Linked DNA regions of Homo sapiens: regions 1, 2, 3, 4, 6 and 7 are each linked to region 5. The links are contacts of gene promoters, found by promoter capture Hi-C in blood cells and fetal thymus (Javierre and others, 2016). All regions are on one chromosome and are shown on one strand. The core of a region is centred on a gene start or on the middle of the fragment in contact, and the rest is flanking DNA. Distances in the headings are between cores, read along the strand shown.

Region 1 (3,464 bases), core at 158-2,657, 750 kb after region 5:
TAACTTTCTCAGCCTCAATTTTCCTAACTACAAAATGAGTGTAGGCTAAAAGACCTCCCATGCATTCTAAGCTAGCTGGGCACTAACCTTGTGTATCTGGGAAGGAAAGGCCACATGTGCTCTTTTCACCCCAAGGGCATGATAACTTCTTTACCTCCAGTCTCTTAAGACTTCTGTTAGTCAAAGACACAGTCTGCCAAAGGCTAGGGTCCTTTTGTCAGTTTTCCTGCCATAATTTCCACAAGAATGGCCCTAACTGCACTTAACATGCACAGTGGATGTGACAACCTTGGAGTAATTGGACCGTGTCCACTTCCCAAAGAACCAAAAAATCCCTGGATCTGAATGTTCCTTGAATCTCCATTGATGATTTTTCTTTTGTTACATAGGATGACTTGATGAGATTGATAATACTAATATTGTTCTTCAGGCCTTTCCTCCTCAGACCTGTCAGTGTTATAAAGGATTATTTTTTGAATTTTCTCTGTATTACTTCCATGTGTTCTCTTTTATTATCATTATTATTAGTTGGCTTCATTTTATTAAAGATAGTGTAATTTGGAGTCAGTTCTTGTGGCCGAGTTGATTTAAGAGGAAACGAAGCTTACATAGTTACTATAATTTTGTGTCTATAACGTCTACAATATTTATGGCATTAATTTTGTGGTGCAATGCATTGTATACCAGAACAGCATGTTATATGCATGAATGGTGGTGCTTTGACTGAAAAATGTGTCCTGTGGTAGCTTTGTCCTCAGGCACAGAACTAAATATGCACACATATTCAATGACCAAGTGAGTGGTTAGAAACCTCTGGCTCTGACGGGCAGCCGTGGGAGGCCAGTGTTCAACGTGGTAGACCATGTTCCTGCCGTACTTCCCATTCATCTCTTCAATCCATTCCTACTTCAGCTGTGCCCCAGTTCAGCTCTTTATTTCCCCCACAGGGTCGTTACAGAAGGCTCCTGGTTGACCTCTCTGCCTCTGGTTTTACAACAGCTATTTCATCTTTTATATGCCCCCCGAGTGGCGCCCTCCTAGCTACTTCCCAGTCATCTCCTTGCTCAAGCACCCTGCTTGTGCTCCATTGCCTGTATAAAGCGTAGACACTCTGGCCTGCCATCCCTGGCTCTTGACCCACTGCCCACGGAGCTTTTCTGAAACCCTCTCACCCCTCTGCCTGGTTCACTTCTACTCATGTCTACAGCATATTACACTCTACCACTTCTTACAAACTCATCCTTCCTTCAAAACATGTTCCTTTGACAAAGAACCCCTAACCTTTAGGGATTTCTTGCTCTTCCAAACCCTAGCAACTCCTAGCGAAGCCTAATGTATTATTAGTTACCTATTGCTGTGTAACAGATTACTCCACACTGTAAAACAACAAATACATATTATCTCCCATAGTTTCCGAGGGTCAGGAATCTGGGAGTGGCTTAGCAGGTGGCTCTGGCTCAGAGTTGCTCATAAGGTTGTGTTCAAGCTATCGGCCAGAGCCGCAGCCTTTGGAACACTTGACTGGGCTGGAGTATCCACTTCCAAGCTCGCCTGTGAGGCTCTTGGCAGGAGATCTCACTTCTTCTTCACTTTGTCCTCCCCATAGCGCTACTCAACATCATGTCAGATGGCTTTTCTAAAGTGAGTGATGAGAGAAAGACAGACAGACAAAAGACTAAGATTGAAGCTGCAATGCCTTTTATAACCCAATCTTGGATGTAAAAACCATCACGCTTATTTGTTACACTGACTGCTACCTTTGATACAAGGTGAGAGGTGACTACTTAAGGGTGTGAATACCCGAAGGTGGGGTTGTTAGGGGCCACCTGGCAGGCTGGCTGCTACACCTGCCTTATATTGTTTTAGCATGCATGTGTTCTGTTTTGCCAGCTAGCCTGGCACTGTTTAAGTTTGCAGGCTGGTCTCATTGACTGTGTGGTTCCCTTACTTCATCCAAAGTGCTTTTCATGTAGATAATTATTTTGTTTTCAAAATAATGTGTTGCCCTCTCCTCCTTTTTTAAGAGATAGAGGTAACTGGTGCCTGGAAGGATTGGTTATCTAAGTCAGTCAACTACTATGTGACAGAACATGTGAATTCACTCCTAGGTCTTTAAATCTAAAACCCATGTTCTGTCCACTATACAAATGGTATGCTGATTTTGCTTTCTATAAAATATTTTCCACAACCTGCCTCTTGTCTATAAGCTTTGGTGTTAATTAAAAGGAACAACTTGGAAGCTCCCAATGATTGCAGGGAAGTATTTGTGTGTAACAATCTTCAGGCGGGAAAAGTTTCCAAGAAGTTGTCTTAACCAACTAAAACCTCATCTTCCTGGTCTTCATCTGTTCAGCAGTTGCCTATCCAAAGCCTCTGATTTATCTGACTGTTCTACTGATCAAGGGAGCTTAAGAGGCCCATATGAATACCATGTTTTAGCAGTTTTTTTCTCATTAAGTCATCTGGGGAGATTCAGCTGGTCACCTCCCACCACGAGAAACTTTCTACCATAGCGCCTCACTCATCTGTTTCTAACAAGTGATGCTCTTGCGAACAGTCTCTGAGTTTTCTAGGCTTAGAGGGATTGCGCTGGAAACTAAATTGGGAACTCTCCCAATAACGCTCTCTGGATACCACGACTTAGCTTCAGAGGGAGGTTCTAGGAAAAGCAAAAAAAAAAAAAAAAAAAAAAAAAGAAAAAAGAGAAAAAAGTCTTTGTCATACTCCCAAGCACAAAGTTACGGTGGTTGAATTCAATAAAGGAGCTTTGATTTTCTTTTTCATTTTGAACAAAATACTGGTCCTTTTGGTTGACTTTGAAAATGTGTAATATGTATGTTTCTAATTTCAGTTATTTGCCCTTTTCTGCAGAAAGGGGAACACTGCAGGTGGCTTTCTGAAACTTGAACGCCTCGAATTTTTGTGTTCCCTCTCATGATCATCTTTTATATCTGCAGGGGACATTAGACTTATAATGATCTTTAGATTTTTGGCTTATTGGCTAAAGATATCTCTTTTTGAAACATTTTTATTGAAGTATGTCTTCTACCCACCAATGGTTGGAGGAATTTTAAATATTGTTTTCCAATCTCTTTTCTTATCTCTGCATAGGGATGCTTTTTATTTTTTACCTGCAGTGGCTGTGGGGTGGTTTCATGTTACATGCTTCTCCACAGTGAGTTTCCCTAAAACGGAATTTTTTGAATCTCTTTAAAAAGTCTGAACATACTGGGAAAAGATGAGAAAGGGATTTGAAAAAGAATTGAGAATGAACTTTCTCAAATACTTTTATGCTCCTAGGTGGTTAGAAGGTTGTTTTCTGTATAGATTGACATATAGATTGACATTTTCTTTAGCGGCTATACTCTGAATCAAATTCCTTCCTCTGGAGCTCTGGGAAAGCTCCCATTCTGATGACAGTAGAATTCTGTCTTGCTAGTTTGTTTTTACATATATCTAGATCT
Region 2 (3,329 bases), core at 433-2,932, 890 kb before region 5:
AGATTTTAGGGCCAGACCCCACCCAGACCGTTTTCTTGTGGTTTGCCCAACACTACCACACACCCCTTAATCTCATTTAATCATTTCAACACCACGAGGTTTGAAACAAACGGTGAGGTATGAAACAAAACGGTGAGGCCAGGGATTGGGAAGAGAAAGCTGTGGTTCCATCTCGGTCCAGCGTGCTGTCCACGCCAAGAGGCGGGCAGAAATGCTAGCCTCACACAATCTAGGGGACCAGGGGTGGCTGTGGCGCCCTCCTGCCCGCAGGAGGTGTTATCAGTGTCGCGGACTCGGGCGGTGTGCTGCCCCTGGTGAGATGTCATCACGTGCGTGGACCAGGGGTGGCGGCCCTGGTAAGTGTCCAGGGACTAAGGGCTCCCTGCTCTCCAGGTGTGGTGGACGGGGTCCGCATGCATGCCGTCCTCTTCTCTAAGACGCTAAGGCGGCTGAGTTCTGTAAGTAGCGGCAAGAAGAACAGTCACGGAGCGGGCCGGGCACAAAGGGCGCAGGCCAGGTGGCCCCAGGCGGAAAGATGGCCGCAGCCAGAGGCTGCAGGTGGCCGGGCGCGCTCCCTGCGCGCGTCGCGGAGAGGACGCAGCGAAAATCAAACCCGCGATTTGGAAATCCGGCTGCGGCCCTACCCCGAGATAAGTCTTCTGCGGAGGGAAGTATTTAATTTGCATCCAGGACGGTCGGAAGAGGCGCCTTCCCGTCGGAGGCGAGGCGCGGGCGCGTGGGAGCTTTCTCGTGTGCGCTCCTCCCTGTCCTCCGCCTGCGGCCGGGGCGCAGAGTCCGTGGTCATATGAGAATGACAGTTTTTTGTCTGTTTGTTTTGGCGGGGGCGAGGGTGGCTAAAGGAATGAAAGAGCCTTGCATTAGGAGCTGGGCTCTGGTTTCCTCTCCACCATTCTAGCACAAGCTTCCTCCATGACCATGACTCTGGGCAACGTCTGTCTAGTCACTGAGCCTCAGTTTCCCTGTTCATAAAATGGGAGATTGGACTATGATGTTGTCATAGCCCAAAGGGGATGAAGTGGGATTTGCCGTTCCATTTCATCCCACCAGAAAAGCCGCCCTCCATTAGCCACCCCGGGCTGACACCCAGCGTTTTTGGACGGCCTCGCCTCCCCTTACCTGCCTCTTTCTTTCTTTTGCCCGTTCGAGGGTGGCAAAGGCGATGGGTGGGCGGGGCCTATAAATCGCCCCGCCCCTCCCCGCCCCTTCCCCGCCTCCTGACGTCGCCCGCGCCCCTCCGCCCTCCGCGCGGGGATGAAGCCACCACGTGACCTCACATCCGGCGCGGGAGTCCTGAGCCCGCGCGCGCTCCCCCGCCTGCCTGCCGGCTCTCCCCGCAGCGTGATCGGGCGCCGCCGCGGAGGGGAGGGGGGTTCTCTACGTCGCTGGCGGCGGGGGGGCCGTTTCGGAGTGCAGACCGCCCCCCTCCCCTGCCCACCTCCCGCCGCCCTCCCTTGTTCTCGCCCTGCCGGCTGCACGCCGCCGCCGCGGGCGCGGAGGAGGAGGAGAGCGCGGACGTCCCAGGGCCGGCCCGGCCCCGCCGCGGCGCCTCCTTCCCTCACCCTGAGCCGCAGCGCGCGGCGCCGGCCGAGGGCGATGGGGCTGGGCTGAGGCGAGGCGGCGGCGGCGACAGCGGCGGCCGGGTCCCCCGCGGTCCCTGGGGCTGGTCCGGCCGCGAGGGAGGCCGCGGAGGAGGCGGCGCGGCGGCGGCCAGTGAGCGGCCCCGGTGAGCGGGGCGAGGGGCGGGTGGGCAGCGGCGCCGGGGGAGGTCGAGGAGGCGAATGGTGGTGTCGGGGCGGCGGGTACCGGGCGAGGTCGCGGCCAGCCTTCTCGGGCCGGAGTTGGGCATCGCGGGGACGGGGAGTGTCGGGGGCAGGTGAGGCCAGGGCAGGAGCCCACGCGGTGGGTGCGAAGGCCTGGGGGGGACGCGCCGCCTGCCGGGGGCGAGCGTGGGGGCCGGGCGCTTGGTGGTTGGTAGTCAGAGCTTTCGGAAAGTCCTGTGGGAGGTGGAGGTCCTGTGGGCAGAGGCGTAGGGGTGCTGGCAGGGCCCTCGATGAGTCTGTGCGGGACCCTAGCTCGTCCTCAGCCGTGGAGTATGGAGCTGCTTGCCATCTCCGCATTTCACAGATAAAAGGAGTGAGTCCCGTGGAGGAAAAGTGACTTCTGACTTGCCTGAGGCCTCCCACTCGGACTCTGTGGCAGTGAGGACTAGAAAAACCCAGGGCCCTTTGCCCTAGCAGTGCTCTCGTGGCCACTCTCGCTATGGCCTTTCTGTCTCTCCATTCCCTTCACAGAGTCAGGTTCTGGTGGAAGTATGACCTCTGGCTTTTTTGGGGAGGTGAGGGGTAGGGATGAAGGGGGAGGGAATCGGGTTGGGATTGGCAGGAACTCAGCTGGGGGCTTCCCGGTGTGGAAGAAGCTTTGTGACAGGTGTTTATTGTTTCCTCTTCCCATAGATCTGACAGACATCCCTGAATCTTGGTGTTTGGACATAGGAGGTATGAATCACTCACATAATTAGCCGCTTTTAATCATCAGTGTCTTAGAGCTATATTTAGTGGTTATATTAGTGCAAAATGAATGGGTGTGGAGTCGTACACCTAGAAACAGACTTGTGTTCCTCTATACGATTCTAACTAAATGAGTAGAACATACCTGGGTATGTCATGGCTACTTTAGATCTATGAGGCAGGAAGTTAGAATTTAAGGAATCTAAGAAATGCAGGGACTTGAAAGATTATTGCAAAATAAAGCCTTTAAAAAGTATCGTTGTTAAAATGAAAGTGTTTCGATTTGATTCCTTTGAAGGGTGAGTACGTAATGAACAGTGCTCTATCTTTGGTTAGAGCTCAGCCTCTTTACCAAGGTACATGTATTAATTTTGTTTCACTGGAATATATGTGACATTATTTTCTCTAGAGGTTTGTTGCTTTGCTTAATAGACTACAGTTGCCAAAAATCAATGTGTGTGGGCATCTCATCCTGGTTTGCAACCCCTTTAAGGCAAATCAGTGCTTGGAAGTTGTTCGAAGTAGTAAACCTATTATTAATGATTGTTGTAGAACATAACTTTTGCTGGTATCTTTGATTTGCATTATCCTACCATTAGATCAGGCAGAGAGTGAAATAATTGAGATTTTGAGCCTTGTTAGAACAACAATGCCTGGCTTTGGTCAGGGGATTGGGTAGGAAAAGTGACACTATTTGGTTGCTTTAAATTTTTTTTTTTTTTTTTGAGATGGCATCTTGCTCTGTTGCCCAGGCTGGAGTGCAGTGGTGTGAACTCGGCTCACTGTAACTTCTGCCTCCTG
Region 3 (3,880 bases), core at 876-3,375, 810 kb before region 5:
TAACAAGGATACTTGTACACAGCTTTCTTCCAAAAATGATCATGCGGCTAAGTTGCCAGGAGCAATAGTACCAAAAGATAGTTTGGGACAGAATGTGAAGATTTTCAAATTAAATATTAAAAATGTTTTCTCTTTCTGAATGGCTTAAAGTTCTTAATACATTAGATATTCTGTGGTAAAGAATCCATATCTGCAAGTTATTTAAAAGGTATTAGTACACAAGAGTATAGGTATATAAAACTAAATGAAGTCAATCATATTGATTATCCCCCCAAAAAAAATATAATCTAAAGAATAATCAGTTCCTAAATAATTGAAAGCTGCCCTTACAAAATAAAACAAAAGAACACACATTTCGTTGTGTTGCCCAGGCTGGTCTCGAACTCCTGGGCTCAAGCAGTCCTCCCACCTCGACCTCCCAAGATGCTGGGATTTCGGACATGAGCCACCACGCCCGGCCAAAGCTGCCTTTTTTTAACATGGATTTTTTTTTCCCCCATTCGTTGTGCTCAGAAGTCATTTCCTCTTATTTTTCTCTGCTAATGTGTGCTTTAACAAACCTGTTTAAAACGACAAGCCTTTAATCAACTGGGGTGTTTTGTTTTGTTTTTTTCTTATTTTCTTAGGAGTCAGTGGATCGGTGGGGAAAATGCTGCTTACCCTGGGCCCTGGGCTGTAGAAAGAAGACACCAAAGGCAAAGTACATGTATCTGGCGCAGGAGCTCTTGGTTGATCCAGAATGGCCACCAAAACCTCAGACAACCACAGAAGCTAAAGCTTTAGTTAAGGAGAATGGATCATGTCAAATCATCACCATAACATAGCAGTGAATCAGTCTCAGTGGTATTGCTGATAGCAGTATTCAGGAATATGTGATTTTAGGAGTTTCTGATCCTGTGTGTCAGAATGGCACTAGTTCAGTTTATGTCCCTTCTGATATAGTAGCTTATTTGACAGCTTTGCTCTTCCTTAAAATAAAAACAGAAAAATATATCGTCCTAACAGTTAAATTAACAATCAATCCATAAAGTCCTATATCTTCATTCAGCAACCCAAATATTACATACATTTCCAGAATTTTCTTGATTGTTACTTTCAGTGATATTCTTTATATTGGGTACAGGAGAAGTTTGGTGTTTGGTAGGTTTTTCAACATTAGTTTTTGAGACTAGTTTACCTCTTCACATTTATGCTCACAACCCTCTTGTTAGAAAAGTCTGTGTTTATATACAGGCTGTAAGTTTGTGATTGATAAAAAGAAGATGAGTGTTAATTAGCCTCCAGTGAAAATATACTGAAAGCCTGTTTTCATTTGATTCCAATGTTTCTTCCAAAGAATTCTGTATAAACATATGCCAATTCCCTATGATGGTCTAGAGTTAGGAATGAGTGTTTATGGTGTTGCTTATAGAACAACTCAGGTAATCTCCATTTCTGGTTTTATATTTTCTGTACAAACTGCCTGGGTTTTATTTTTCTAATCAGCAAGGTGCTTCACTGCCTTCTTGAGACGCCTCTCAAAGCTCTTAAATGGCTCCTGTGCTATGTGTGGTGTTGGCAGTCTAATTTGCTTCTGTTAAATGTTGTAGAACCTTTTTCACTAGGAAATAAGATTCATTTCTTTCGGCAGTAGATGTAGATTCATCTTTTAACGTTTCTTCAAATTTGTTTCTGTCAGGCTTTGTGTTATTTTAAATGGTTTTTTAAAATTTTCTTCTATGTTTTCAATTACCTAAAGACATAGGATAATAGTTTTTTTTAAGTTAGAATTTTACCTCATAAAATTTTTTGAGGTTTGATGTATGTCTCTGTCTTATCAATAATGAGGCTTAAAAAATACTGGATTTGAATGGCTGCCGTTTTTTCAAAGCAATATGAATTTGATGAGTTTGTTTTATGCCATTAGGTGGCGCCAGAGGTCAGAACATGTCTATTTTGAATTGGATCGTTACAAATGAGCATATTTGATGCGGAAATTTCTGGGAGAAAAAAAATTGAGGAAATAAAGTTAAAAAATTGACATTCATTGAGCCAAAAGAGATGTGGAGAAACATTTTTCACCTTTCTGTTTGGCCTGATTAACATTTAAATTCTTGCCAAAATTAAGGTAACTTTTAAAAAACACCTTTTATAGGTGGATCCAGCAGTCTGGCAACGCCCACAGTTACCACAACACAGAAAACTGATCGTGCTATAAAATGGACGCTAAACTATGAAAACAGTGTGACATTGTTCTCTGTTCTTCCAGAGCCAGTAACATGCTTGCTCGTGCTTTCTACTTCTAGCTGATCATTCTTTTCCCAACATATATTTACAAATTTACCAAATTTTACCTAGAATTTTAGGACCAAATGGTTCTCACTCTTTATGCTGCAAAGACCTGGATGATGTTTGGTAACTATAGAAAAATAGAAATTACACTCAGGATCACTGTTACTGCTATTGCCACTGATGATTCCTGCAAAAATATAATCGAAGTTTTCCATCAAATGTATAATATGCTATTAATACACATTAGATGATAACAGTTGTTCCATGAATGATTCTATGAAGCTATGCATCTTAGACCTCTTGAGCTGTGAATTAGCACTATTTTCTATAGTTACTTATTCTCTGGATCATTTTATAATTTCCATATTAATTTCAAATATGCTCGTGTTATTCTTCAGTGATTTCCACAATTGTGCATTTTATTCTTTGGTTTAAGTACTGAAGCATATAATGAAAGTAATTGCTAAGTAGCAGCTTAAAAATTCAATTATCCGATTGTATTTAACATCTTTAAGAGCATGATCATAAAGAGCTATTTTTGACACCCCCCCCCCACTTTTTTAACATTTAGAGTTAGTAAGGGTTTTATATCTCTTCTGTCCATATTGTTTTCAAAGGAATGAGGTGTTTAGGTGGCTGGAAAAGCATTTGTAGGAAGTTAGATTTGAATATAGACAAGGTGGGTTATTCACGTTGAGAATGTTATTTGAAGAATGCCTGTGAAGCCAGGTGTGGGTTCTACTCAGTGCCATAGATAGACTGAGTCTTCTCTCGTAGGTTACCATTACATAGTAATTTTGATTCTGAATTTCACATTAAATTATTTGAGTTTATACAGACCTAAATTTTAAAATCTGTACATATATTATTTTGATGTATTAAGATGAATATTGCTGATTTAAATTTTATTTATGCACATACTTAAAGGACAGAAATGTCTGGGAAAGTAATTGTTAAATAATGATATGTAACTTTTTAACTTTTTAAATAAATAACAAGATTTTTAATGTGTGTCTCCCTCAGGGTTGTTTAAAGTTTTTTTTCTCCCTCAAGTATAAATAGTGGTAACTATATGTTTTGTATCTTCTAGCACCAACTGCTGTAAAGCAATGCTGCAAATAATGCTTGAATACAAGTGGCTAAGCCAACAACAGAATAAATACTTTTATAGTAGTTTTATAATCCTGAAATTCGAAAGCTTTCCCAATTGCACTTGCATCTAAACAAAACTGTTGCAGTTTTTACTCTATTTATTTTGTTCCCCATGTTTATGAAAGTCCTGCACAGTTTCAAAGGCATGGTAAATAATATATCAATGTTTATGTAGTCTGTTACAGAAACAGCTATAGATAACATTATCCAGTGAAGAGCAAAATTCAAGCTTTAGAAAATATTCATGCATGCAATTTTGACATATCTAAAAATAGGTTTTTGTATATTTATGGTGGGAGGTGGTTGGGAACTTTTAACAAAATGGGGTGTTAATTTTTGTACAGTCTGTGGGCATTTACACATTTTTAATGTATTAAAATTTGGTAATTATGTGTACATTAAATTAATAAAAGTTACTTCTAGTTATGATTTGTGAATTCCCTAAGACCTTGGATTT
Region 4 (3,443 bases), core at 440-2,939, 770 kb after region 5:
GGCCTCTAACTACCAGCAGTACCTCTTTGACATTCAGTGTTCTCATCCATACAAGGAAGCAGTTACATTAGATGTTCTAAGGGTCTGTGCAGTTACAAAGTGAATGAATGTGATCAGTGGAATATTTCTGTTTTGCACGCAGAAAAGCAAAAGCCGTAAAGGATACAGTGACCTGACCATGGCCACGGGGAAAAATCACTGGCTCATCGGGAATAGGTCAGACTCTTTCTAAGTTTTGGCCTTCATGCTTCCTCGTGGTCCCCAGTAGCACTTCCCCGTGGTGGACCTTATTCTTTACAATGCCAGTGATTTGCATTTGCTCTTACATCTATTAGAACTTCTATGTGGATATCCAAAAGGGGTGGGAGGAATAAAGTTACTTGGTGAGTTCCTATACTATTAATGAAGTCTCTGCCTCCATGCCTGTTGAGACTGGTATCTGAGGTGAACTCCTGTCACCTTTTCTGTTGAATCTTATTTTGGGGAGAAACCAGTAATTGAAGTGAAACAGTGTAAGTGACTCTCCAATGTATCACAAGCTCTCTTCAACTCAATTTAGAAACATCTCTTATTAGGAATGAAAACTTTAAGCAGATGCCCCATTCCAACCTCCCACCCCCACCCCGCCTTTTTTCTGTTGGACTGTTATGCTTGTTTGTGGCACATTTAATTAGCTTCTCAGGGACTTGCTGTGAATAATAGCTCCCTCACATTTAGAAATGCGATAGGTATACACTTGTTTGTTTAGAATCAGATCACGTATTTCCATGTAAAGATATTTCAAATAATGCCTGGGTTCACAGGTGCCATTTTAACTCAGTTTGCAACCGGAATGCAGTACTCATCCTATTATCTTGGGTTTGGGGAGTAGGAGGCTGTATAGGAGGGGAGGGAAAGGAAGAGGAAGAGAAAAAAATTGAGCACAGTTTTGAAATTGACAAAGGGTTTCCTGGGTGCTGCCTCTTGCTGCCTCCCTGTCTCCTACTTCTGTCCTCAGGACCTTCCAGGACCCTGACGGCCCATCATGGCACTTTGTAGACCTCCAAATCACTCAGTCAACTCTGAATCCAACTCCCACTGTGGCAGGGCTGGTGTTCTTTGCTGCGTTAAGAATGTTGTTCTCCAATTCCAGACATTTAAACCAAAGAGTAAATGTTAATTAGCGCCTTAACTTCCAGAAAGCAATTTCCAGTTTCCCTTTTAATCGTGACAATGAACCTAATTGGTAGAATTAGGCAAGAAGAGAGGGAAGGGGCAGAAAATTCTGGACTGAGAACTTGCCTCTAGGTTTGGTGCTCCCTGCTTGTGCCTGGATCTCCCAGCTTCCTTCATTTCTGGATCCCATAGTGTTTGAAAGCTGCAGGTGCTCTGCGGTCTCCCAGGGCAATAGCGAAGTTGTGAGATGAGGTTGAGGAATGAGGTGGGAGCAGGTGTGGATAGTTCACACTACTGACCTGGATGAAATGTTTGTGAGTCAACCCTACCTTTGGAGTCAGAGAGCTTGGTTCAGCTATCAGATCCACTGACTATGTAACTTTGAGCATTTATTTAACCTCAAGGTCTTCATCATAAGAGGGCATTATAAAGATTAATAACAATTCACAAGAAACCTTTTGGCCCAAAGTAGGTGCCCAGTAAATGAGTGATGTTATTAAGAGCCCAGGTGGTGGTGGATAGTGACATTAGCAATATCAGGAAGGCAGCAGCATTAGTCAAATAAACGATGTGTTCATTGTTATTTGAAGGGTACGTAATGTTCTGTTTGTTTGTTTAAAATGGATTTGTGAGGGATGGGTGTGAAGGATGGCTTGAGGCCAGGAGTTCGGGACTAGCCTCAGCAACATAGCGAGACCTCATCTCTACAAAAAATATATATAAAAAAAAGCTGGGTGTGGTGGCACCGCCTGTAGTCCTGATTACTCAAAAGGCTGAGGTGAGAGGATTGCTTGAGCCCAAGAGTTTGAGGCTGGAGTGAGCCGTGATCACACCGTTGCATTTCAGCCTGGGTGACAGAGCGAGCCCCTGTGTCAGAAAATAAGATTTGGGGGGATGGAAAACAGGGTGGAGCGCGAGTTAGGTAGTCAGAAGTTGTACCTCCAGATGCTGGCTGAACGAGGCAGCGGAGCATCTGTGAGGAGGTTGGGCCTTTGCAGAGAGAGCCCGGGGCGGGACGCCGGAGGAATATTTGACACAGTCTGAGTGGCCGCTACGCAGACGCTTTCATCAGCAGTCATTCCTCGTCTGTCTATAGGCGAGAATCAATAACAGAAGAAAAAGGTGACAAATCATTCATTGCCCAGAGACTGGCTGTAAATCCAGTGCCTGTTATTTTCTTTCTAATCATTTTAACAAAACTTCTGTACGAGTCCTTTCCCTGCAACACAGAACCTCATCCCTGGACTTTGAAAGGCCTTTGGAAAGATCTGAAATTACATTTTGTATTATCCGAAGTTGTTATCTCGGGGGAGTTAAAGGTCTACTTTGCTCTTTGTGCTTAAGTTAGATCAGCGTTCATAATGTCATAGTTTTCTTTTTTACAATCTGTTTCATGATACTCATAAATTTTAGAGAAATCTGTCTGAAGGTTCTGCATACACCTCTGTGTGTTTCTGGGGGGTGTGTACTTTTATACATCTTAGCTCTGACTTGCTGTTATACAAACTCACTCTTAATATCGCATCTCCCTCCCCTTTCTCTCCCCACAGAAACACAAACACACTTATTTATGTATAGAGTCCTGAAAGTCAGAAAGGACATTAAAAACCATGTATTCCACCCAACTTACTTGGTAGCCAAGGAAACAGAAACCTAGGGAGAGGAGCTGATTCCCCTACCCCCTTGTAGGGAGCACCAGGACTAGGCCCTGGGTGTCCTGCTTCAGGTTCAGAGCTTGGGATGCAGAGCTTGTCCCCAGAGCAGGAGCTGCAGGGCCTGCTCTCCAAGCTGCCTGCACTTTCACAGATGGATGTCAGGTGCCTCCCAAGCTGGAGTACCTGGAAATGGGTAAAAATAGTTGAACAAGTGAGTACAGTTGGCGAAAAGTAAAGTCTTTTTAGACAGCTTTGGAATGATTAGAGAGGGGACTTGGGGACCACTCCAGCAGTGGTCTGCATAGAAGATCTTTTGTAAGCACTGATTTATTTTTCTGCTGAGGGGCCAGCCTCAGGCAGAATTGGGAAATAGGCAGCTTGATATGATGCAGTGATTTTCTAACCCTTTCTCCATCTCCCTTTTAAAACTATAGGACTCTTCCCTCAAATAGAAGCATAAGAGGAAGCCCAATAAGTAAAACCGATCCAAGTGGTCGAAGCGGGGGTGGGAGGCCCAGGTTCTGCTCACTTGACTGTCACATTCTTTCCTTGCACTTCATCTTCCACCTTCACCCTCCACTAATTACAGGGCTTCTCCGGAGGCCCAGCCCTTGTGCTAGGTTTGGAAACCAC
Region 5 (3,355 bases), core at 410-2,909:
AATGCAAGGGTTGTAAATAACTTACTTTAATACCAAGGGCTGTGAACTTACTCAAAGACTAAAATTCCATGAGATTAAAAATACCTATGCAATAATTCTAACTGACTAACACTGTTAACTATTGTTATCTCATCTAGTTCTGTATTTTGGACTCCAGTTAACCTATATAAAACAAATTGGGCCGGGCGCGGTGGCTCACGGTTGTAATCCCAGCACTTTGGGAAGTCGAGGAGGGTGGATCACATGAGGTCAGGAGTTCGAGACCAGCCTGGCCAAAATGGTGAAACCCCCTCTCTACTAAAAATACAAAAATTAGCTAGGCGTGCTGGCGCGTGCCTGTAATTCCAGCTACTCCGGAGGCGGAGACAGGAGAATTGCTTGAACCTGGGAGGCGGAGGTTGCAGTGAGCCGAGATAGCGCTACTGCACTCCAGCCTGGACGACAGAGCAAGACTCCGTCTCAAAACAAAACAAAAACAAACTAACGAATGCATTCCATTCCTTATAAACACGATAAATTATCTATACCACTTAAAAAGGTCTGGAAAAAATTCAAAACAACTGCTTAGAAGTTAATTCAGGAAAACCACGTTTTTCCAATTTTGCTTGATGCATCTTACTTCCTATCAAATGCCTGCAACAATGAGCTAAGCTTGAAGGTATCTAATGATACTAGAACAAAATTTCCTATAAAATCCAATTTAATCTCATTACAATGCATATAGTAACGCACAGAAATGAAAAGATTTCTATGATTTTCTATTTAGAATTAAACCACCCCAGGGCAACAATGATTGAGATTAGAAAGGTGGTGCCACGTTCACGACCTTGCATCAAAAAGTAAGTCTCCCTCCCGAAACACAGAAAAAAGCTGCTATTGAAAGGGCATCTCGAATCACCGTCTCTGACACCGTGTGCGTCATTGCTCTAGTTCTGACTTCTATCAGCGGGCTAGGGAAAGAGACGGACGCCCCTTTCCCCGATAGAAGAGCCCAGGTACCTGAAGATGCAATGTACACATGGCGTGGAAATGGAAGAAAAAGAAGACACCGAGAGTTAGGAGAAATGTGGAGAGAGGTGACTCATGGACAGAGCCAAACCTGGCAGGGAGAGGACAGAAAAAAGGCAAAAGAGGCAACCAGAGACAGACAGAACACTGAAGACACAAGGGTGTAAAGGGCAGAGACAAAAGGACAATAGAGACGGGCCAAGATTGAGAGGCGTCCAGAATTTTCGGGTTGGGTAGGGCCAGAGAAAAGGGCCAGTATTGAAGCCGGCTCCGAACGTAAGCCCAGCCAGGGCTCCTGTCATTCTGGGTCCTCAAGAACATCTGGGAATTCTCCAACTGCCGTCGGCCTGGCCTGAGAGTCACCTGCACATTTTTGGAGATAGAGATAAGACAGCCCCACTCTCAAGAGGCCCCAGAATTAACGGGGCCAGATTAGAGCCTGCACTTACCAGGCCACAGCGGCCCGACGTAGTCGCCACATCCCGCCGGCGGGGAGGTCACGCAGGCGCCGAGACGGCCACGCGGGAGCCCCCGTGTGAGCCCCAGCCCGGCTCCCGGTCCAGGAATGACCCAGGAAGTGGCCCTCAGCAGCAAGGGCACAGAGCCGCGGCCGAGGCCCTCCCAATGGCGCATGGACTTCCGCAAGAGCCTGACAGGCACCCGTACTCAGTCCGTCACGGAAACAACCACTTCACCCTTTCTAGGCGGGCAGCACGAACGGTCCGCGGAGGACCAGCGCATGCGCACAGTGCGTCGGGAACGGACTGGAGCAATCCATCGCCTCTCACGGGGCCCCGCCCTCTTGCTTCCGATTTGGAATTCGGAATTAGCCTTGCAGGTTAGAGATTTGGCCAGGGGAGGGAGCGAGAGTTGGGCGGGAACGGGAAGGGCTAAAGGCGTGGAATGAGAATTGATGAATGCTCACCGGGAGCCATGAATTTATTAAGAGTTGGATATTGAGGGAGCACGAAGGAAACTAGAGAGTGCAAGGTGAAATACAGTAATAGCGTACTACAAACTAATGCTTGCACATTTGCCTACCTTCTTTCTTGGGCATCTTTGTTTGAAAGCACTTTCACATCGTTAGGGCAATCATGGGAGGTGAGAAGCAGGACGAAGAGTCATGGATAGGCTAAGTCCCTTAGAATCTCTGAGGATCAGATGGGAAAGGGACTTAAATCAGTTAGGCCAGTAACGGGTTTGGAATAAGCTTGTGTGGTTTATAAAAGGCGTCAAAATGATTTGTTCAACTGTTTCTTCCGGATTTTAAGCCCACCAGTTTGTTGAAATGGTCCTCGTCAAGGCCTCCACCAGCTCCCTATTGTTTGTGGCCAGTGAGCCTGCCACAGCATTCAGTTCAGATGCCTAGTGCTGAGCACTCCTTCAACTACTTTTTCTTTTGGCTCTCTGGCCATCACATTCTCCTTTTTCCCTGGAACTGCTGCTCCCAGGCTTCTTTGATGGCTCCCCTCCCAAATTTCTCAATGTTGGACAGGCCCAGATCTCAGCCATCTTGAGCTCCTCTCCTCCATCACTTTAAATACTCCTTTCCCCTTCCAACACAAACCTTTTATGTTTTGTAAGGAAACCAGGGCCCGTAAAAGGGATGTGGCCTGTGAACGGTTATGAAGCCAATTTTTAGGGACTAAAATAAAAGGGTCCTGTGCATCCTCTTTACTTCAGGGACCTTTCACCTCCTCCCCACTACCCGCCCCCCACCCATGCCACACACATACACAAATACACAGAGCATAAAGACAATTCCTTTTCCCTTAATTGTCAGAATCATAAGTCTGGACCCATGCACTCACAATACCACCAAGAGTAGACCTAGCCATTGATAGTAAACTTCCCAAATGCAGGACTCTTAGAATTTTCTTTATTTATTGTGGTGACTGTTTCAATGGCAGGTCCAGAGAGCAATTTGCTGTACCAACCTGTGCAAACTGTAGATCTTCCTGGGATTGTAGGGTTGTACAAAAAGTGTCTTTGTAATCGTTACTTCCTTGTTATTTTAGAAAATAAAATAAGAGAAACCAAGAGACTTTAACAACAACAACAAAAAAGAAAAATTAGGGATAAAAGACTTTAACCATAAAAAAAGGAGAAACTAACCACCATCACCATTTATATATGGTTATCATATGTTTTATGAAGCCCTTGTTTTGCAGTTCTACTTCTAGGCATTTATCCTGTGGAATCATTCCCATGTATGCAAAGATGTATGCATGATGATGTTTATTTCTGCACTGTATGAAATGGGAAAAGATTGGAATCAGTATAAATGTCCATGTATAGGAACTAGACACATAAATTACATCCGTACTAGCCATGAAAACCTATGCTT
Region 6 (3,745 bases), core at 457-2,956, 790 kb after region 5:
AAAGAGAGTTATGAACTCATTACCCCTGAAAGTGTCTCCAGCCCACACTGAGAACCGCTGGTACAAAGAAGAGTGTAAGCGCAAAGAGCCTGGGGAAAGAAAACCGCTTAGGCAATAGATAAAAAAGGCCGAACTTCATATGATGGCAGGAGAGATGGAGAACAGGGAAGGAAGTGAGAAACCCTGGCAGAGGTTCCATGGAAAAGATTTGGCAGTAGAAGGGCAGCAAAGAGTTGAAATGTACTGAGGTTTTCAGTCTGCATAACTGAGTGGATGGCAATTCCATTAACTGAGATGATGACTGGGGGAAGAGGGGCCCTGTTTTATTATTGAAAACGATACTGCTTTTCACACTGAGAGAGAAAAATCTATCATAATTCTTGCATTTGGAAAAGGGTGGATTCTAGCACTAGTGAGAAAGTACTGTTGGCCAGGTCTCTGCAGCAGCCTGAGATTTGATTTAGTACTGATAATGAGTTTTGGTTCTTGGAACATCAGAGCATTCTGTTTCATGCATAAGACTCTTATGTCTGTGTTTCCTGTAATAGTGTTGTTTTTTTCTTCTTTATTTCCAGGAATGGTGCAAAAGCTGGACCAAAAGCTTCCAGTGGCTAATGAATACCTGTTGCTCTCTGGAGGTGTCCGGGAAGGCGTGGTGGACCTGGACTTAGATGAGCTTAATGTCTATGCCCGGGGTACTGACTATGATATGGACTTTACCCTCTTGGTGCCAGCCCTCAAGCTGCATGACCGTAATCAGCCTGTGACACTCGACATGCGCCACTCAGCCTTGTGCCACTCTTGGCTGAGCCTTCGGCTCTTTGATGAGGGGACAATCAGTAAATGGAAAGACTGCTGCACCATTGTAGATCACATCAATGGTGCCACCAACTACTTCTTCTCACCTACCAAAGTGGCTGACTGGTTCTATGACTCTATCAGCATTGTCCTATCAGAAATACAGAAGAAACCCCAGCGAGGGATGCCAAAGGTAGAAAAGGTGGAAAAAAATGGGACCATCATCTCCATCATTCTGGGTGTAGGGAGTAGTCGCATGTTGTATGATATTGTCCCTGTGGTATCTTTCAAAGGTTGGCCTGCAGTGGCCCAGAGCTGGCTCATGGAGAACCACTTTTGGGATGGGAAGATTACTGAGGAAGAGGTCATCAGTGGGTTTTACTTGGTGCCTGCTTGCTCCTACAAGGGTAAGAAGGACAATGAATGGCGGCTGTCCTTTGCCAGGAGCGAGGTGCAGTTGAAGAAGTGCATCTCCAGCAGCCTCATGCAGGCCTATCAGGCCTGCAAAGCCATCATCATTAAACTGCTGTCCCGGCCCAAGGCTATTAGCCCCTATCACCTGCGGAGCATGATGCTCTGGGCCTGCGACAGACTTCCTGCCAACTACTTGGCTCAAGAAGACTATGCAGCCCACTTTTTGCTGGGCCTCATCGATGACCTGCAACACTGTCTGGTCAACAAGATGTGCCCCAATTATTTCATCCCTCAGTGCAACATGCTGGAACATCTGTCTGAGGAGACAGTCATGCTTCACGCCCGGAAGCTGTCCTCTGTGCGCTCAGACCCGGCAGAGCACTTGCGCACCGCCATTGAGCATGTCAAGGCAGCCAACCGGCTGACACTGGAGCTCCAGAGGCGAGGTAGCACCACCAGCATCCCCTCTCCACAGTCTGACGGAGGGGACCCCAACCAGCCTGATGACCGTTTGGCAAAAAAACTGCAGCAGCTAGTGACTGAGAACCCGGGAAAGTCAATCTCTGTCTTTATCAATCCTGACGATGTCACAAGGCCCCATTTCAGAATTGATGACAAATTTTTCTGAGTGTTAGCTGACTTTTTTTTTTCCTGATTCTTAAACTCTGATAATGTGTCGTGTGGTTTGTGATGCTATCTTTCTGTTTTTTACATATCCAGCCTAGATTGGATTTGTTAAGAACAAATTTTAAGTTTCCTGGTTCTGCAGGATGGTGCAGGCTCTGAAACAGTATATTACTATTTCATATTCTGCCTCTGATTTCGTTGTTTACTTTTTGTAGTTATTGTCATGCTCTTTAGTTTGTTGGAGTTTTTTTTCTTTTTAAGGAGATCTTAAGCCATAGATGAAAATGCCCATGAATCCTCTTGCTTTTTTCTGTTTCATACTTGGTGCAAATTTGTTCATGGGTATGGGGAAACAAATCTCTTTCTGATGCTTAACGATTCTATCCTATTATTTTTATTATTTTGTTTTTGTCTTTTTTCTTATGAGCTTTCACCACTACTGATATTTGAGAATCATATGAACCTGGGAACTACTTGGCATGTTAGCTGGATTTATTTATTTTGGCCAGTGACCAGAGTAGTTTCCCCCCTTTTCCACCAAACAATGTAAACTTTGAAAGTGATAATACTACAAATTGTGTTTTGGAGCAACTTCATTGAATGTAATTGTCCTCAAATCAGAGAACACTGGGTGGTTTGAAGGGTGTCTTTGACAGTTTTCCAAGCAGAATTAAGGTTTCCAAATGTTAATTTTAGCATATGTAATTATTTGAAGCCTTATTTAAATCCTATTAAAGAACATACCATTATAATTATTATTTGCACTAATCTTTGCCATTGTCAGAATTGCAAAGTGTGTTTCAATATAAATTAACAACCACTCTCGAAATTCTATCATTTTTTCATTTTGCCCATTTCTATCAGTGAAATGATTCTTTGCATTTGCTTAGTTCTCCTTCAGTTGTGGGGTCCTGCTTTGCCCTCTTTGATATTCCTGGTTCCTGTCTTACTGAGAGAAGTTGTTAAAGCTTTATACATGTTGACCCCATCTAAAGCTGGGGAAAATATACACTTGATGAAGTAGGTGTCTTTGTATTTATTTCTTTTGGGGTCATAGAGGTAAGCTTTTTTGTAAAATCTCTACTCTTCCTGAGAGTTTTGAGAAAAACTGGCAGGAAGAACTTATAATCCCCAAATAGAAGATACCACGTCTGTTCAAAAGCAGGTATTGCTATAGAGCAGCACCCAGGAAATATCTGTGGGTGGCAGCCTTGGTATAGAGGTGTCCTGTCTTCATGAGTGAAGTTACTTGCCTGATTAGGTGCTGGAAGGTATTGGCTCCCTGTTTTGGTGTGGACTCATGGCAAGCTGGTGTTTAAGAGGTCAGGAGGCCTGCTGATCTTTCAAAGGACACCCATGATGTCTACTCATAGAAAGGGCAAGTAACGTGTTCATTTTGGTCTTGAATGTCCAAACTCAAGGGTTGGATTTTGGCCAATTGAAATCAGACATATGCGATCTTGGGTTTTTGCATGGAAATTAATGTAATGCTTATAAATGAAAAATGAAAACATTTCAACCATCTAAGTCAAACACAAAAATAATAAAAAAAGAAACATACTGGCCTTGAAATTTTGTTGTTGTTTGTAATCTGGGAATTATTTTCTTATTAGTATTATATTAGTATATTTATATATTAGTATATTTTCTTATTAGTATTATACTAACAGCAATTTTCAATAAATACAGCCATGGGCTTGCTAGTGTCTTTCGGACCAGTTGTCCATATAGTGAACAACCAACATTCAGTCTTCCTCTTTCCCCAGTTTTACTACTAATGTCTATCCGCCACATCATCCTTGTCCTTCTCAGGAAATGATTTCATCCCTAGTGCTGAAAACGCGTCATAATTGGAAAAGCTGATCTGCACAAACCATCTCCCTGGCCACAACATTAACAAGCGACA
Region 7 (3,673 bases), core at 1,166-3,665, 740 kb before region 5:
GAGAATCGCTTGAACCTGGAAGGTGGAGGCTGCCGTGAGCCGAGATCGCACGACTGCACTCCAGCCTGGGCAACAAGAGCGAAACTCCATCTCAAAACAAATAAAAATAAAAATAAAAAAACAAGGGAGAACAGCTCTAGTGAGTGGGCAGCTTGCACTCAGCTGCTGGGAGAATGAAGCTGCCACTCAGCTGGCCCAGGCTGCCCCTACACCTCAAACCTTTTCCTTCTCCTTAGCAGCAGCCATGATGTGTGCTGAGCAGGCAAAGCCACCCTCCCCTCTGGGGCCTTTGTGTCACAAAGTCGAGCGTCTGGGGTTTCCCTTCCCGAGGCTTCGTTTTATCTCAGTTTCTCCTGGGCGCAGCGCGGGTACTGGGACACCTGGACTCTCTGTTGTTGTAGGGGTTTGTTCTTGCAAGCCATTCCCAAGCTGCTTCCTGAGCTGTAAACATCTTAGGACCATGGGTCATGATTGGCAAGGAATATGCCTTGCTAGCTTTGGGATGGAGTTGATTTTCAGACGATCTTACTCTGTCTCTTCTAGGCTCCTGCCTCCCTAACACTGGGGTTACCCAGATATCATTTTGTTTAAATCTCCCCCAGCGATTCTAACGCATGGCCAGGGTTGAACATTTAGGCAGAATTTTGTCTCGGGCACTGTCCAGGGCTAGGTTCAGTGTAATTTGCACTGGGCAATGCTGGCCTCCTCAGACCCACCTGGTGTCTGCTCTGGATGAATTCATGAATGAAACAAGTGACAAACATCATGTATAAAAATATTTCATGGATTTTTTTTCTTTCTTGTTGATGTTTTCATTGTATTTTATTATTATTATTTTTTGAGATAGAGTCTCACTCTGTCTCCCAGGCTGGAGTGCAGTGGCACGATCTTGGCTCACTGCAACCTCTACCTCCCTGGTTCAAGCAGTTCCCCTGCCTCAGCCTCCCGAGTAGCTGTGATTACAGACACGCCACCACGCCCGGCTAATTTTTTTTTTGTATTTTTAGTAGAGATGGGTTCTTGCTATGTTGGCCAGGCTGGTCACGAACTCCTGGCCTCAGGCAATCTGCCCGCCTCGGCCTCCCAAAGTGCTGGGATTATAGGCATGAGCCACCGCGCCCGGCCGATGTTTTTAATTTTTCAGCATTAGTGCTCTCATAAATCTTGCATTTTTGAAGAAACAGCAGCTGGGGGTGCGCTCTGCCTTGCTTTTTTTTTTTTTTTTTTTTTTTTTTTTAGATGGAGTCTCCCTCTGTTGCCAGGCTGGAGTGCAGTGGTGCAATCTTGGCTCACTGCAACCTCTGCCTCCTGGGTTCAAGCGACTCTCCTGCCTCAGCCTCCCAAGTAGCTGGGGCTACAGGCACGTGCCACCATGCCCAGCTAATTTTTGTATTTTTAGTAGAGACAGGGTTTCAACATGTTGGCCAGGATGGTCTTGATCTCTTGATTACGTGATCCGTCCGCCTTGGCCTCCCAAAGTGCTGGGATTACAGGCGTGAGCCACCGCCACCGGCCTGCCTCGCTTTCTTATAGTAAAGGATGGCTAAGACATTCCAAAGCTCCTCCTTCCAGCAGGCAGGACGCTCTTCCAGGAAGCTTTGAATGTTGTACCTTCTTTAGTGATGTCCTGCTACTTGCCAGTCATGCAGCCCTCGGCAAATTACTAAGCTGTCTGTGGCTCAGTGTCCTCACCATAGTTTTATCACATAGCACCCACCTCATAGTGTTATTGGTGAAGATAAAATAAGTGCATCCATATAAAGTACCCACAACAATGACACATGGTACGTTCTCCAAAATCGTTATCTTGCATTATTATTTTTGTTAGTATTATTCTAGAGAGAACTGTGGGTGTGGGTGCGGACGGGGTAGGCAAGCACCGGCCAATTGTTTTACCTGTTCCCGTTGATCTGTTTCTGGAAGAACGTAAAAACTGCTGTTTATATATCAAAATTGCATTGTTTAGGAGGATTGGAAATGCAATTGACACAATTGTTCAGTGCTAACAGTGGATATTGGAAAACTGGACGGTGCCGTCAAAGATTAGACTGTCTAGCGCGATGCGAGTCCAAGGACGAATGCTTTCTGGCCCTCTCAGCCTGCTTCCACCACGCGCGCATCTGCAAGCATTTTAAGTCTGCGCCTGCAGAGGTCCCGAGCCTGGTCTCGGAGCGCCCCCTTGTGGTCGCACGGAAGAACGCGCCCCGCGCAGACGTGGAGGGCCAGGGAGGGGTTCTCCCAGCTCCGCCCGCGGGCGCGGCGCGGTACTTTATTCTTGGAAAGTCAGAACCGGGTCCCCTAGAAGGGATACGGGCACATTGACACGGTGACCCGGGGGATACTTGCCGGAGTGCATGCGGGCGTGCGTGCGGAGCCGTCACGGCTTCTGTCTCCTGCACGCCTGAAAAAGCGCCAGGTCCGCTTGGGGCCCATGCACCGAGGAGCCGCCGGGCGGAGGCGAGTCCACCCGCCACCCGGTGGGGCGGCGAAGCGTTCGGGGCGCTCCAGATTGTCCCCGCGCTGCCGCGGTCCTGCACAGTGACTCGTCCCGCGCCCTCCACGGCTTCCAAGCGTCCCCTGCGACCTCCAGATGCCGATGTGGTACGAACCCCGTCCTCGAGGATCTCAGCTGGGAGCCTCCTGCTGCGCGCTGCTGCCACGTGGACGCGCGGTTCAGGACCGCACCTGGCAACGTGCATCCTGGGAAGACTGTGCTTTGTTTTCTTTGGGATTTTATCAAGAGTTGTTCAGCACTTTGGGAATCTTTATCCCGAGGCAATGCTTAGCCCTGATTGCAAAATGTCAAACACGGACACAAATTCATCCTTTACTCATCGTGAGTGAGTGACAGTGACTTCCAGTCTGTTAGTGAGATCTTGGCCAAACATTCCACATGGAAACGAATTCTTTTATTATAAGTTACCTTTGACTTCTAATTAATATTACAGATAGAAGGTTTTATTTTTAAATTCTCTGCGAGGTTTGACGATATTATCTGTGAAGTTTTTTTTCAGGAGACTAAAGCGGGTGTTACAAATGATTTACCAGGAAATCATTAGGTCTGTGGGGGTGCGGTTCAGAGGTCAAAGTAACAGAAGGAGCAAAACCACATGGTCTTCATCAAAGGAGGCCTGCTGGTGTGTCCTGGCCCTGTTTTCCTCCCGGGGTGGAGGCTATGGGTCTGAGGCTCCCCTTCCCACCATGGCGTGAGAGATCCTTTCGCAGAGAAGCTTTGTAAAGGGGAGCAGAGATTCCAGCTGCATTTGGAGGGAAAGGACAGATTCGTGTATTAGTCTGTTCTCCAGCCAAAAAGAACCAACAAGAGATGATAGATAGATAGGAATTGGCTCATGCAATTGCAGAGGCTGAGAGATCTCAGGTTCTGCAAGCTGGAGACCCAGGGAAGGCGGTGGTGTAATTCCATCCAAGTCCCAAGACCTAAGAACCAGGGGATCTGATGATATAAATCCCGGTGCAAAGGCAGGAGATGAGATGTCCCCGCTCCAGCAGTGAGGCAGGAAGACGCGGGGCAGTTACTCCTTCCTCTGCCTTTTTGTTCACTCAGGCCCTCAGTGGATTGGGTGGTGCCTGCCCTGGCTGGGGAGCGGATCTGCTGTGCTGAGTCCACCTTTCCAAATGTCAATGTCATCGGGAAACGCCCTCAGAGACACAC

What was found. Contacts are between HindIII fragments. The CHiCAGO score rates a contact against its expected background, and 5 or more counts as called.
Region 1: a contact is called between a fragment that was not itself captured here and the fragment with the promoter of OPA1 in region 5, in 4 of 17 cell types (M0 macrophages, M1 macrophages, M2 macrophages and 1 more). The highest score is 25.2, in M0 macrophages.
Region 2: a contact is called between a fragment that was not itself captured here and the fragment with the promoter of OPA1 in region 5, in 4 of 17 cell types (fetal thymus, naive CD8 T cells, total CD4 T cells and 1 more). The highest score is 8.2, in fetal thymus.
Region 3: a fragment that was not itself captured here is called in contact with the fragment with the promoter of OPA1 in region 5 in 3 of 17 cell types (naive CD8 T cells, naive CD4 T cells and total CD4 T cells); the score reaches 5.9 in naive CD8 T cells.
Region 4: a contact is called between a fragment that was not itself captured here and the fragment with the promoter of OPA1 in region 5, in 6 of 17 cell types (M0 macrophages, M2 macrophages, M1 macrophages and 3 more). The highest score is 27.0, in M0 macrophages.
Region 6: a contact is called between a fragment that was not itself captured here and the fragment with the promoter of OPA1 in region 5, in 3 of 17 cell types (endothelial precursors, M0 macrophages and M2 macrophages). The highest score is 10.6, in endothelial precursors.
Region 7: a fragment that was not itself captured here is called in contact with the fragment with the promoter of OPA1 in region 5 in 7 of 17 cell types (fetal thymus, total B cells, non-activated CD4 T cells and 4 more); the score reaches 7.9 in fetal thymus.

What each region holds. Positions count from the first base shown.
Region 1 is chr3:192,839,647-192,843,110 of GRCh38, reverse strand. All of the region lies in intron 1 of MB21D2 (Mab-21 domain containing 2), which reads left to right. Among named protein-coding and RNA genes, the nearest start is that of MB21D2, 76 kb to the left of the region's middle. RefSeq lists an enhancer at 2,531-2,580. The HindIII fragment of the contact is 1,604 bases long and covers 606-2,209 here.
Region 2 is chr3:194,484,981-194,488,309 of GRCh38, reverse strand. ATP13A3 (ATPase 13A3) reads left to right here and starts at 1,308. Exons shown (of 34, transcript NM_001367549.1): 1 at 1,308-1,744; 2 at 2,475-2,516. It overlaps ATP13A3-DT (ATP13A3 divergent transcript), which reads right to left and starts at 1,170. Exons shown (of 2, transcript NR_033929.1): 1 at 1,138-1,170; 2 at 1-854. RefSeq lists an enhancer at 289-508 and silencers at 1,179-1,838, 1,869-1,918, 2,009-2,068. The HindIII fragment of the contact is 1,515 bases long and covers 925-2,439 here.
Region 3 is chr3:194,402,863-194,406,742 of GRCh38, reverse strand. ATP13A3 (ATPase 13A3) reads left to right here. Exons shown (of 34, transcript NM_001367549.1): 34 at 627-3,880. The coding sequence ends at 824. Among named protein-coding and RNA genes, the nearest start is that of GP5, 5.5 kb to the right of the region's middle. The HindIII fragment of the contact is 2,692 bases long and covers 780-3,471 here.
Region 4 is chr3:192,819,369-192,822,811 of GRCh38, reverse strand. The region is part of intron 1 of MB21D2 (Mab-21 domain containing 2); the gene reads left to right. Among named protein-coding and RNA genes, the nearest start is that of FGF12, 94 kb to the right of the region's middle. The HindIII fragment of the contact is 6,078 bases long and covers 1-3,443 here.
Region 5 is chr3:193,591,512-193,594,866 of GRCh38, reverse strand. It overlaps OPA1 (OPA1 mitochondrial dynamin like GTPase), which reads right to left and starts at 1,659. Exons shown (of 31, transcript NM_130837.3): 1 at 1,458-1,659. The coding sequence starts at 1,489. It also overlaps a transcript of ATP13A4 not described here. RefSeq lists enhancers at 1,101-1,180, 694-1,345, 1,781-1,830, 1,881-1,950, 1,346-1,997 and a silencer at 1,411-1,560. The HindIII fragment of the contact is 1,567 bases long and covers 654-2,220 here.
Region 6 is chr3:192,796,481-192,800,225 of GRCh38, reverse strand. MB21D2 (Mab-21 domain containing 2) reads left to right here. Exons shown (of 2, transcript NM_178496.4): 2 at 576-3,411. The coding sequence ends at 1,840. Among named protein-coding and RNA genes, the nearest start is that of FGF12, 71 kb to the right of the region's middle. The HindIII fragment of the contact is 2,206 bases long and covers 604-2,809 here.
Region 7 is chr3:194,332,440-194,336,112 of GRCh38, reverse strand. No RefSeq gene overlaps it. Among named protein-coding and RNA genes, the nearest start is that of CPN2, 17 kb to the left of the region's middle. The HindIII fragment of the contact is 1,634 bases long and covers 1,599-3,232 here.